Linked DNA regions of Homo sapiens: all the other regions are linked to region 1. Evidence: promoter capture Hi-C in human tissues and cell types (Jung and others, 2019). All regions are on one chromosome and are shown on one strand. The core of a region is centred on a gene start or on the middle of the fragment in contact, and the rest is flanking DNA. Distances in the headings are between cores, read along the strand shown.

Region 1 (4,494 bases), core at 725-3,224:
AAGCTCCACCCACTGGGTTCACACCATTCTCCTGCCTCAGCCTCCCGAGTAGCTGGGACTACAGGCACCCGCCACCACGCCCGGCTAATTTTTTCTATTTTTAGTAAAGACAGGGTTTCACTGTGTTAGCCAGGATGGTCTCGATCTCCTGACCTTGTGATCCACCCACCTCGGCCTCCCAAAGTGCTGGGATTACAGGCATGAGCCACTGTGCATGGACTATTTATTTATTTTTTTGAAACAGAGTTTCAATCTTGTTGCACAGCCTGGAGTGCAATGGTGTGATCTCAGCTCACTGCAACCTCTGCCTTCTGGTTTCAAGCAATTCTCCTGCCTCAGCCTCCTGAGTAGCTGGGATTACAGGCACCCACCACCACGCTCGAATATATATATATATTTTTTGAGACGGAGTCCCGCTCTGTCACCAGGCTGGAGTGCAGTGGCACAATATCGGCTCACTGAAACCTCCGGCTCCTGGGTTCAAGCGATTCTCCTGCAGCCTCCCAAGTAGCTGGGATTACAGGCATGCAGCACCACGCCCATCTAATTTTTGTATTTTTGGTAGAGATGGGGTTTTACCATGTTGGCCAGGATGGTCTTGATCTCTTGACCTCGTGATCTGCCCACCTCGGCCTCCCAAAGTGCTGGGATTACAGGCGTGAGCCACCGCGCCCGGCCTACGCCTGGCTAATTTTTGTATTTTTAGTAGAGACGTGGTTTCGCCATGTTGCCCAGGCTGGTCTCGAACTCCTGACCTCATGATCCGCCTGTCTCGGCCTCCCAAAGTGTTGGGATTACAGGTATGAGCCACCGCGCCCAGCCAATTATTATTATTTTTTGAGATGCAGTCTCACTCTGTTGCCCAGGCTGGAGTTGCAGTGGCATGATCTTGGCTCACTGCAATCTTCATCTCCCAGACTGAAGCAGTTCTCATGCCTCAGCCTCCTGAGTAGCTGGGATTACAGGCACACGCCACCACACCTGGCTAATTTTTGTATTTTTAGTAGAGATGGGATTTCACCATGTTGGCCAGGCTGGTCTCAAACTCCTGACCTCAAGTGATTTGCCCACGTCGGCCTCCCAAAGTGCTGGGATTATAGGCGTGAGCCACCGGGCCCAGCCCAAGAGAATAAAAATGTGGGTGGTAAAAATTTTTTTCCCAAAAATTCGTAAATGAAAATCTCACATATTATGCATACTGCCCAGGAGCATGGCCTAGCACTGTGCAAACACTCAACTGCTGGTCGTTGCAAGGATTATTATTGGCCGGCTTCAGTGGCTCGTGCTGGTATTCCCAGCACATTGGGAGATGGAGGCTGGAGGATTGCTTAAGTCCGGGATTTCAAGACCAGCCTGGACAACATAGTGGGATCCCATCTCTACAAAGAATTTTAAAAATTAGCCAGGTGCAGTGGGAAGATTGCTTCAGTCCAGAGGCTGCAGTGAGCTATGATTGTGCCACTGCACTCCAGCCTGGGTGACAGAGCAACACCCTGAGACAGAGAGAGAGAGGGGGAAGGAGGGAAGGAGGGAAGGAAGGAAGGAAGGAAGGAAGGAAGGAAGGAAGGAAGGAAGGAAGGAAAGGAGAGAGAGAGAGAGAGAGAGAGAGAGAGAGAGAGAAAATAATTTTTATTTATTTCCAGGCTGGGAAGAGATGCTGATTTCTGCGATAAAATCAGTAGGTACATTTTTTGGAATGTTCGCTATGTGCCAGGCTAGATTTTACAGATGAGAAGTCTGAAGCTCAGGTAAGGTAAGTCACCTGTCCAGGGCCACAAAGAAAAAAAAAACGTGTGTCTGAAGCCAGAACGGGAGCTGTTGCGGCCCAACTCCCTCCCCTGCCCCCAAGCGGCCTCTGGGCTCGGGAAGGGCCCCTGCCTCCTCCCGCCAGGCACTTATCTCTACCCAGGCTGAGTGCTGGCCCCGCCCCCTCGGGGATCTGCCACTTAGAGGCGCCTGGTCGGGAAGGGCCTGGTCAGCTGCGTCCGGCGGAGGCAGCTGCTGACCCAGCTGTGGACTGTGCCGGGGGCGGGGGACGGAGGGGCAGGAGCCCTGGGCTCCCCGTGGCGGGGGCTGTATCATGGACCACCTCGGGGCGTCCCTCTGGCCCCAGGTCGGCTCCCTTTGTCTCCTGCTCGCTGGGGCCGCCTGGGCGCCCCCGCCTAACCTCCCGGACCCCAAGTTCGAGAGCAAAGGTAAGGATGAGCTGCGTGTGGACCCCTACGCTGGAGCCTGCAGGACCATGCTGGGGCCTGAACTCCCAGCCTAGGTCCTGGGGGCCATGCCTGTTTCTGGACTTCCTGACCGGGTCCTGGGGGCCAAGCTGGCATCTGAACCCTTAGACTGGGTCCTGGATGGGTGGGGGGCGGGGTGGGGTATGTTAGGATCCAAGACTCCTGATCGCGTCCCGGGCAAGAGCTAGAGTGGGCTTAACATTCCCGTTTTACCTTTTCAGGGAGTCTGGGACATGCTAAATCCTAAGGGGGCTGACTTGGTGCTAAGGTCCCTGGGGGGTGGGGACCAAGCCGACCCTCCCTAGGGGAGGGAGGGTAAAGCCCGGGTCCGAGTTAGAGGGGCCAAGCCACAGGCTACTGTAAACACGGTTTGTGTGAGGGCGCCAGATCACTTGCCCGGCCCGGTGGAGGGAGGGAGGCGGGGGGCACGGTTGGCGCTATCGGTTGGCGGGGAGCCTGCCGGGGCCGATAGGGGGCCCGCCTCTCCGCACACACCCCCAGCCGCGCGCGTGTCCTAGGCTGGGGCGGGGCTGGCAGTCCCGAGCTCGAGGTCTTGAACGCCGCGCCCAGCTCAGCTGGCCGCTGGGTGGGCAGGTGTGCGCCAGTGGTGACGGCGGGGGACAGTAAGGCGAGAAACTTGCCCCTGGGAATTAGGGGGGCACCACCTCTGCGGACCCCTCCAAGGGACCCGCTTGGGAAGATGGCAGGGCGGGGCTTTTTTCTTATCGGGTCCGCCCAGGCTGCGGGAGGGAAGAGGAGGGGGCTGTCTCCCGAGGATAGAGCTCAGACCCCCATGCCCTTCCTTTGTCGCCCCTCCCCAGCGGCCTTGCTGGCGGCCCGGGGGCCCGAAGAGCTTCTGTGCTTCACCGAGCGGTTGGAGGACTTGGTGTGTTTCTGGGAGGAAGCGGCGAGCGCTGGGGTGGGCCCGGGCAACTACAGCTTCTCCTACCAGCTCGAGTGAGTCCGATCCGGCGGGTGCCTCCAAGGGCGGAGGGAGGGGGTGGGGCAGAGCTCCCTGGAGGTCGTAGCCTCGTATGTCCCCTGCTGTTTGAGGCCCGACGGCGCCTCCAGTCGTGGTCACTGGAGGGAAACCTGCGGGTCCAGGGCTGGCACGCCCTCTATGGGCCGGGGCGCGAACACTCCCGCGATCACCGCTGGAACGCGACCCCAAACATCAGGCTGGGATAACAACGCCTCCAAATCGAGGGTAAGGCGTTACTACGTCGGGGCTGGGACGCCTTCTCGAGGTAGTATCCAAAAGGAGGCCAGCAGTGGCTCATGCCTGTAATCCCAACTCTTTGGAAGGTCGAGGCGGAAGAACCGCTTGAGCCCAGGAGTTCAAGACCAGCCTGGGCAACACAGCGAGATCCCCGTCTCTTAAAAAAAAATTAGACTGGGCGCGGTGGCTCACGCCTGTAATCCCAGCACTTTGGGAGGCTGAGGCGGGCGGATCACCTGAGGTCGGGAGTTTGAGACCAGCCTGGCCAACATGGAGAAACTCTATCTCTACTAAAAATACAAAATTAGCCGGGCGTGGTGGCGCATGCCTGTGATCCCAGCTACTCGGGAGGCTGAGGCAGGAGAATCGCTTGAACCCGGGAGGCGGAGGTTGCGGTGAGCCGAGGTAGCGCCATTGCACTCCAGCCTGGGCAACAAGAGCGAAACTCCGTCTCAAAAAAAAAAAAAAAAAAAGCCAGGCGTGGCGCGTGCCTGTGGTCTCAACTACTTGGGAAGCTGAGGTGGGAGGATCCCTTAAGCCCCAGAATTTGAGGCTGCAGTGAGCCATGATCGCGCCACTGCACTCCAGCCTGGGCGACGAAGGAACACCTTGTCACACACACACACAAGGCTAGACCTTGTGTCACACATACACACTGCCCCCCACAGGCCGGGCAATGCCAACTCCCCGGTCCCCCCTCCCAACCTGCTCCCTTCCCTGGGCGCATAGGGATGAGCCATGGAAGCTGTGTCGCCTGCACCAGGCTCCCACGGCTCGTGGTGCGGTGCGCTTCTGGTGTTCGCTGCCTACAGCCGACACGTCGAGCTTCGTGCCCCTAGAGTTGCGCGTCACAGCAGCCTCCGGCGCTCCGCGATATCACCGTGTCATCCACATCAATGAAGTAGGTAAGTGCTCTGGGAATGGAGGAGTGGTCGGAGGAGAGGGTCTCAGTCCTCGCCCACCTGACCAACCCCCATGCCTGCAGTGCTCCTAGACGCCCCCGTGGGGCTGGTGGCGCGGTTGGCTGACGAGAGCGGCCAC
Region 2 (4,494 bases), core at 615-3,114, 480 kb after region 1:
TGAACAGCCACTGCACTCCAGCCTGGGCAACATAGCAAGACTCCACCTCTTTAAAAAAACAAAAACAAAAACAAACAAACAAACAAAAAGCTGGCCAAGTGCAGTGGCTCATGCCTGTAATCCCAGCACTTTGGGAGGCCGAGGCAGGCAGATCACCTGAGGTCAGGAGTTCAAGACCAGCCTGGTCAACATGGCAAAATGCCGTCTCTACTAAAAACACAAAAATTAGCCAGACATGATGGTGGGTGCCTGTAGTCCCAGCTACTCAGGAAGCTGAGACAGGGAGAATTGCTTGAATCAGGGAGGTGGAGGTTGCAGTGAGCTGAGATAGCGCCACTGCACTTTAGCTTGGGCAACAGAGTGAGACTCCGCTTCAGAAAAAAAAAAAAAAAGTCCGGGTGCAGTGGCTCACACCTGTAATCCCAGCACTTTGGGGGGCCGAGGCGGGTGGATCACAAGGTCAGGAGATCGAGACCATCCTGGCTAACACGGTGAAACCCCGTCTCTACTAAAAATACAAAAAATTAGCCGGGTGTGGTGACGGGTGCCTGTAGTCCCAGCTACTCGGGAGGCTGAGGCAGGAGAATGGCAGGAACCTGGGAGGCGGAGCTTGCGGTGAGCCGAGATCACGCCACTGCACCCCAGCCTGGGCGACAGAGCCAGACTCATCTCAAAAAAATAAAAATAAAAACAAAACAAAGCAAAAAAAACCAACAGACACTCGTATGCAAGCATTCACAGCAGTACTTATTCACGACAGACACAAGATAGAAATACAACCCAAATGTCCATAAACTGACAAACAGATAAACAAATATGGCTTATCTATAAAATGAAACATTATTCAGCCATAAAAATAAAGGAAGCACTGAGCCATGCTGCAACATGAATGAATAGCAGAAACATCATGCCGAAAGAAGCCAGACACAAATGATTCTATTTATATGAAATAGTCACAGAAGGCACACTGCTGGTGGCTGAGAGCTGGGAGAAGGCAGGAATGGGGAGCAACTGCTTAATGGATGTGGGGTCTCCTTTTGGGGTGACAAACATATTTTGGGAGTAGATAGAGGTGATTGTTATGCAACATTGTAAAAGGGCTAATTTCATGTTATGAAACAACAGCTCTTGACCTCCCAGGCTCAAGACATCCTCCCACCTCAGCCTCCCGGGTAGCTGGAACCTCACGCACATGCCACCACCCCTGGCTAATTTTGTTTATTTTTTTGTAGAAATGAGGGTCTCACTATGTTGCCCAGGCTAGTCTGAAACTCCTGGGGCTCAAGTGATCCTCTCACCTTGGCCTCCAAAGTGCTGGGATTACAGGTGTGAATTTTGTTTCAATAGAAAATGAAAAATGGGCCAGGCGTGGTGGCTCACGCCTGTAATTCCAGCACTTTGGGAGGTGGGCGGATCACTTGAACCCAGGAGTTTGAGACACACCTGTCCAACATGGCAAAACCCCGTCTTTACTAAAAATACAAAAATTAGCAAGGCATGATGGCGGGTGCCTGTAATCCCAGCTACTCAGGAGGCTGAGGCAGGAGAATCGCTTGAACCCGGGAGGTGGAGGTTGCAGTGAGCCGAGATGGCACCACTGCACTCCAGCCTGGACGACAGAGTGAGACTCCGTCTCAAAAAAAAAAAAAAAGAAAAAGAAAAAGAAAACTGTTCCTAACTGACGAGTCCAGGTATGAGGGCCTACAGATATGAGACCTGAAGGGCAGCTCCCCGGCCACACCCAGCCAGTCCTGCCAGACTCTCTCCCACCCCAGGAGCCAGGTGCCGCCCTCCTGAGGGCAGGGCATGGAGGAACCTCCTGAGCCCTGCCAGGAGGGTGTCAGCAGGCCACTGCCCCAGACTCACAGCCTCACTACACCCACAGAGGCCCAAGATAAAGTGCTCCCAGCTGTGGGTGGGTCCCAGGAAGGGACATCCAACCTTGGCATGGTGCCCACACTCATACCCGTCCTGGGGCAGGAGATACTGTCGATCTGTTAGCCACACCTGGGCGACAGCAAGTGGGCCCAGGGAGGCCTGTTTACCAAGCAGCCTGGCAACCCGATGTTGCCTGAGGCGTCCCTCTCTGACCTGGCGCCAGGCAGGCAACTACAGGACCTGTGGCCAAGTGAAGCCTGGCTGTGCCCAGCCAGGGCTAGGGCTGGGCTTGGGCCAAAGATGCCGGGGCTGAGGGCAAGTGGATCGCTTCATCACAGCAGCAGCTGCTAAAGCCCGCGGAGCCGGCAGCTTCTCAAAGTCACAGCTTTATCCCCAAGTTAGTCCCTGGCACACAGAAGACACCTGGGAAATACTGACAAACCAAAAAAAAAAAAAAAAAAAACAAGCTAAGCCGTGTTCCTCTCTTTGTTCAGGAGACTCCCGAGCCTCTGAGCTCTGTGCCCATCATTCCTCATGGCTCTCCCCGTCTTGGCCCCTCCCCATGGACACACTCAACCCTCTAGTCCCTACATGGGCCAGGCCCCAGGCCTCTGCACATGCTGTTCCCACTTTCTCCCTTCCTCTCCCCTCCCTCTGCTACTATGGGTCCAGTGGGCCATCGCACACCTGGCCCAGGGTCACCTCTGAGTAGGCAGGGAATGCACAGCCTGTCTCCTGGCTTGCGAACAGCACCCCAGGAGGAGGGTAGAAGGGAGCCTTGGGGCCCGGGACGCACAGGCATCTGGATCCAGCAGTGGCGATTCAGTGCTCGCCACAGATGCAGCCCTGCCCGCAGGAAACTCACTGTGGCATCCTCTCAAGGCCAGCAACCACCTCCCAAAGCGGCCATTCAGCTGGGGAGGAGCAGTATGGGAGCCGCGGAAGGGGGCAGGACCCCAGGATTCAGAAAGGCCCTCTGTGTTGGCCTCTAGAGACAAATCCAAAAAGCACCACTGTTGCGGCATCAGCCGGCGCATGTTGGGGACTGTGTGCACATGGCCTGGAGAGGTGGGGGACAGGCTGCAGGGCTAGCAGGCAAGGGTGACCAAAAAGCAGACTCTAGAGCCAGGAGGCCGTGGTGAGTTCAGGCCAATTGAGGCCAGGCCACAGCTGGGGTATCTTTTTTTTTTGAGACTAAGTCTCACTCTGTCGCCTAGACTGGAGTGCAGTGGCAAAATCTCAGCTCACCGTAACCTCCATCTCCCAGGTTCCAGCGATTCTCCTGTCTCAGCCTCCCGAGTAGCTGGGATTACAGGCATGCACCACCACACCTGGCTAATTTTTGTATTTTTATTAGAGACAGGGTTTCTTTTTTTTTTTTTCTTTTTTTTGAGACGGAGTCTCGCTGTCTCCCAGGCTGGAGTGCAGTGGCGCAATCTTGGCTCACTGCAGGCTCCACTCCCTGGGGTTCACGCCATTCTCCTGCCTCAGCCTCCCGAGTAGCTGGGACTACAGGCGCCCGCCACCTCGCCCGGCTAATTTTTTTTGTATTTTTTGTAGAGACGGGGTTTCACCGTGTTAGCCAGGATGGTCTCGATCTCCTGACCTCGTGATCCGCCTGCCTCAGCCTCCCAAAGTGCTGGGATTACAGGAGTGAGCCACCGCATCCAGCCTAGAGACAGGGTTTCACCTCGTTGACCAGGCTGATCTCAAACTCCTGATCTCAGGTGATTCACCCACCTCGACCTCCCAAAGTGCTGAGATCACCGGTGTGAGCCACCGTGCCCGGCCCAGAGCTAGCATTTCTTTACCCTGCAGTAAAAGGAAAGGGACTGGGATCTCCAGGTGGAGTCTCCAACGGGGAACGTAAAGAACACAAACCCGGACTGAGTGTTACGCTTTGGCCACCCCTGGACCCAGCCTGGGGCTACTCGCTGGCCTGCCACACTGCAGTCGGCCCTGATGAAGCTCTGGGGCCAAGGGAGGAGGGGCTGGAACTGCAGGGAAGGGGGTAGAAAAATTGCCCCATCTTTGAGGCAGCCTTTCTTGCTTCCCAGGAAGCAGCCCTCCACCATGTGAATCCAGGTCACAAACCCCCAGCTGCCATGAGCCAGGCCTGCCCACACCCTGCAGAGGCTGGGATGTCACATGACATAAGAGTGACAACACTCTAACAGCCAGGCTCTGTTCCGGTGCCTTATGTCGACCTCCTGTTTCCTCTTCTCATCACTTCTGGGAGTATCTACTCTCACTATGCCCTTATTTGCTCAGAGAGGTTAAGTGTCTTGCTCAAGGTCACACAGCAAGAGTGGCCGAGGTGACTGGCACCAGCATCCCTATTCCTCACCAATGCACCACCCAATGTCTCTGCGCTTCCTAGAGCAGGCCTTGGCTGACTTTCTGTGTAAAGGACCAGACAGTAAATATTGTGTGCTTCCTGGGGAATCTGATCTCTGCTGGGGAATCTGATCTCTGCTACAATGATTCTATTCTGCCTTGCAGCAGACAATATGTAAACAAATGAGCATGGCTGTGTGCCCATAAAGCTTCATTTGCAAAACCCGGAAGGATTACAGGTGCAGAGCAGAGGCTGGACCCTCAGCATCCTCGCCACCC
Region 3 (4,494 bases), core at 563-3,062, 380 kb before region 1:
GATTGGATGGGCTTTATCCTTTAAGTAACAAGTTGTGACAAAATGTGGGAAATGTTATCTACCAAAAAAAGCTCATAAGAGACCCAGTGGTGAGTGGTTTTTTCATGCTTATCCTAGTATGTTTTCTGTTGCTTATAACAGAATAGTAGAAGCTGAGTAATTTATTTAAAAAACAATATTTCTTCCAGCCTGGCCAACATAGTGAAACCCTGTCTCTATTAAAAATACAAAAATTATCCAAGTGTGGTAGCATGTACCTGTAGTCCCAGTTACTAAGGAAGCTGAGACAGGAGAATTGCTTGAACCCAGGAGGAGGCAGAGGTTGCAGTGAGCCGAGATCGTGCCACTGCACTCCCATCTGGGCAACAAAGCAAGAGTCCATCTAAAAAGAAAAGCCAAAAAACAACAAAAAAAATTATTTATTATAGTTCTGGAACCTAGCAAGTAAGAGGGCTTCATGTGGTGAAAGCCTTCTTGGTCATGGGGGCTGTGCAGAGTTTCTAGGTGGTTGAAGGTATCACATGGAGAATGGGCTGAATGTGGTAGCTCAGGTTCCCTTCTTTTTTAATATGGCCATCAGTCCCACTCCTGAGATAACTCATTAATTCAGTAAGCCATGAATTCATGAATGGATTAATTTATTTATGAGGTCTGAACCCTTAAGATCTACTCACCTCTTAAAGGCCTCACCTTTCATTAGTGCCACATTGGCGATTATGTTTCAACAAGCATTTTGGAGGGGACAAACATTCAAACCTAGCAGTGAATGGCCGGGCGCGGTGGCTCACTCCTGTAATCCCAGCACTTTGGGAGGCTGAGGTGGGTGGATCACGAGGTCAAGAGATCGAGACCATCCTAGCCAACATGGTGAAACCCTGTCTCTACTAAAAATACAAAAATTAGCTGGGCATGGTGGTGTGCGCCTGTAATCCCAGCCACTCGGGAGGCTGAGGCAGGAGAATCGCTTGAACCCAGGAGGCGGAGGTTGCAGTGAGCCGAGATTGCGCCACTGCACTCCAGCCTGGAGACAGAGCAAGACTCTGTCTCAAAAAAAACAAAAACAAAAACAAAAACAAGCAAAAAACCTAGTAGTGAATGATCAGGTATGCTCCCTCTGCCAAGCATATCACAAAAGTTTGAACTCTCAGAGGGAACATAGGAGTTCAGCAGATACCATATTTTTTACATAGTTTAGGGACACTCATCCTCCATTATCGCTTATGTTGGTGAAGCCCCCTAACTAAATTTAGTTCCTAGATATAGTGAAAGGTTCAACTTTGTGAGCAAGCATTTGTAACAATATGCGGTCTCAGGACAGCTGATGTTAACTCTTCTGCCCATTAGGTAGGAGGACTTTGTCACATCAGGAATTACAAACATCCTGTACACATAGATATTAGGGGTGATCTAGGCAATAAATGTCACTCCTTTAACTCACCAAGGAGTGGCATTTTATAATTCGACTGTTATTTTACCAAACACGTTTAATTCTAGCATTAGAATTGCATTCTGGGAGAAAATGAGTTTAGAAAGAGGGTAAGAGTTGGATTACCGTGTCGTTGCATAAATGTTTGGACACCACAGCATCATGTGACATTTATGTAGTGAGTACAGATTCCCAGTGCTGTCAGTTTCAGCTTTCCTCCTCTGCACGTGTCGGGTGTTTCAGGACTCAGTGGCCTTTGAGGATGTGGCTTTGATCTTTTGCCTGGGAGGAGTGGGCTTTGCTGGGTCCATCATAGAAGAGTCTCTACAGAGATGTGCTACGGGAAACCATCAGGAACCTAGACTGTATAGGTAAGGGGGACATCATGTCTTTACTTAGTCAATTACGAATATTTGTTTCTTCGTCACCAATGCTGTTCAAAGATTTAGAATATAAAAGAAATACGTTTGACCCTTGAACAATGCAGGGATTAGGGGCACCAGCCCTCAATGCAGTCACAAATCTTCAAATAACTTTTTTCTCCCCCGCAACTTGACTACTAATAGCCTACTGTTGACCAGAAACCTTACTGGTAAGATATACATTCAATTAACACATATTTTATATGTCATATGCATTACATATTGTTTTCTCACAATAAACTAAGGCAGAGAAAAATGTTAATCAGAAAATCACAAGGAGAAAAAACTATATTTACTATTTCATTAAGTAGAAGTGGAGCATCATAAATGTTATCATCCTTATTGTCTTCACATTGAGTAGGCTGAATAAGAGGAGGGGTTGGTCTTGCTGTCTCAGTAGTAGCAGAAACTGAAGAAAATTTGTATGTAAGGAGATCTATGCAGTTCAAACCTGTGTTGTTGAAGAGTCAACTGTGGTTTGGTGAATAAATCATCCATAACTGCAGTCTACATAAAATCTTACATTTTTAATATAATTTTATTTTTATTTATTATTATTTTTTTTTTGAGATGGAGTCTTGCTCTGTCACCCAGGCTGGAGTGTAGTGGCACGATCTTGGCTCACTGCAGCTTCTGCCTCCTGGGTTCAACTGATTCTCCTGCCTCAGCCTCCCGAGTAGCTGGGACTACAGGCGCACGCCGCCATGCCCGGCTAATATTTTTTTGTATTTTTTAGTAGAGACGGGGTTTCACTGTGTTGCCCAAGCTTGTCTCGAACTCCTGAGCTCAGACGATCCACCCACCTCGGCCTCCCAAAGTGCTAGGATTACATGCGTGAACCACCGCCCCCGGCCTCAATGTAATTTTATAATAATATATAGTGATTCTTCTGGGTCTACATTTTAGGAATGAAATGGGAAGACCAAAACATTAAAGATTAGTACAAAATTCCCAGAAGAAATCTAAGGTAATTTGCCCTAGGAAGAGAAAGATATGTCTTTGGAATAATTCTTAAAGTGACAGGAAATTTTTCACACCTATAATTCCAGCACTTTGAAAGGGTGGGGGGGTGGGGCGCAGTTCAGGAGGTCGGGAATTCGAGACCAGTCTGGCCAACATAGTGAAACCCTGTCTCTACTAAAGATACAAAAAATTAGCCAGGCGTGGTGGTGTGAACCTGTAGTCCCAGCTACTTAGGAGGCTGAGGCAGGAGAATCGCATGTACCCGGGAGGAGGACGTTGCAGTCAGTCGAGATCATGCCATTGCACTCCAGCTCAGGCGAAAGTGCAAGACTCCGTCTAAAAAAAAAGACAGGAAAATTTTAAAACAAGCAAAATAAATAAATAAATAAATAAATAAAAAAGAATAATCCTGGCTTAAATTTATTCACTCTTAGAAAATTTTCTTCAAAAACATACTTAAATGGGACATAGCTGTTAAGTGTGTCTGCAAAATAATTTCCTTGGAAAACAGTACTAAGAATTCCCACGTGAATATTACTGTTCCGATGATAGCCACAGTTGAGTTATCTTGCACAGCATTCAGTCCGTTCATGTTCAAACAGGGCATGACACCTAAGCTTTGCATGATAATGTCAACAATGTAAATTTAAGACCTATTAATATATATAAAAAACACTTATAAACAAACCTGTAGTAATTGTACTTCTCTGTTTTTACAGATATCATATGGTAGACTGATTCTGTAAAAGTAAAGGAGGTAGATAATTTGGAGAAACTTTCAGCCACATTCCAGGTGGTATTGTGAACAACAAAAATCTCCCTTGAGGCCGGGCTCGGTGGCTCACGCCTGTAATCCCAGCACTTTGAGAGGCTGAGGCAGGCAGATTACCTGAGATTGGGAGTTCGAGACCAGCCTGACCAACATGGAGAAACCCCGTCTCTACTAAAAATACAAAATTAGCCGGGCGTGGTGGCACAATGCCTGTAATCCCAGCTACTCGGGAGGCTGAGGCAGGAGAATCCCTTGAACCTGGGAAGCAGAGGTTGCAGTGAGCCAAGATCAGCCATTGCACTCCAGCCTGGGCAACAAGAATGAAACTCCGTCTCAAAAAAAAAAAAAAGTCTCCCTTGAGCAAAACCACGTGAAAGCAGTGTGTGTGGAGAAGTCAGCATGGGTCGTTCATCTTAATTGCTACCATAGAGCTCATGCTCAACACAAGCCACATGAGTATCAGGAATATGGAGAGAAGCCACATACACATAAACAATGTGAGAAAGCCTCCAGTTATTGCCACTTCCTTTGAATACATTAAAGGCCTTACCCTGGAAAGAAACTTAGTGACTGTAAGGAATGTGAGAAAGTACTTAATCGTCTCAGAAGCTTTCAAACACACATGAGAATGCACAGTGGAGATAGGCCTCATAAATGTAAGATATGTGGGAAAGGCTTCAATTCTCACAGACCATTTCAAAGACATGAAAGAACTTACACTGGAGAGAAACCTTATAAATGCAAACAATGTGGGAAAGCCTTCAGTGGTTTCTGTTACACTCAAATACTTGAAAAGGCTCAAACTGGAAAACAACCCTATGAAGGTAAGCAATGTGTAAAAGCATTTTATCATCTCAGAGGCTTTCAAATATACACAAGAACATACACTGGAAGTAGAAATCATAAATGTA

The links. The method cuts DNA at HindIII sites, captures the fragments that hold promoters and counts their contacts. A contact is called where the count stands out against the background at its distance.
Region 2: a fragment that was not itself captured here is called in contact with the fragment with the promoter of EPOR in region 1 in 1 of the 25 tissues and cell types used here (spleen).
Region 3: a fragment that was not itself captured here is called in contact with the fragment with the promoter of EPOR in region 1 in 1 of the 25 tissues and cell types used here (heart right ventricle).

The regions. Positions count from the first base shown.
Region 1 is chr19:11,381,794-11,386,287 of GRCh38, reverse strand. It overlaps EPOR (erythropoietin receptor), which reads left to right and starts at 1,974. Exons shown (of 8, transcript NM_000121.4): 1 at 1,974-2,195; 2 at 3,056-3,191; 3 at 4,183-4,358; 4 at 4,439-4,494. The coding sequence starts at 2,081. RefSeq lists a silencer at 2,675-2,734 and enhancers at 4,188-4,277, 4,288-4,347, 4,334-4,494. The HindIII fragment of the contact is 19,405 bases long and covers 1-4,494 here.
Region 2 is chr19:10,896,881-10,901,374 of GRCh38, reverse strand. All of the region lies in intron 1 of CARM1 (coactivator associated arginine methyltransferase 1), which reads right to left. Among named protein-coding and RNA genes, the nearest start is that of CARM1, 28 kb to the right of the region's middle. RefSeq lists an enhancer at 1,513-2,130. The HindIII fragment of the contact is 8,039 bases long and covers 1-4,494 here.
Region 3 is chr19:11,757,109-11,761,602 of GRCh38, reverse strand. No RefSeq gene overlaps it. Among named protein-coding and RNA genes, the nearest start is that of ZNF441, 7.6 kb to the left of the region's middle. The HindIII fragment of the contact is 5,499 bases long and covers 1-4,494 here.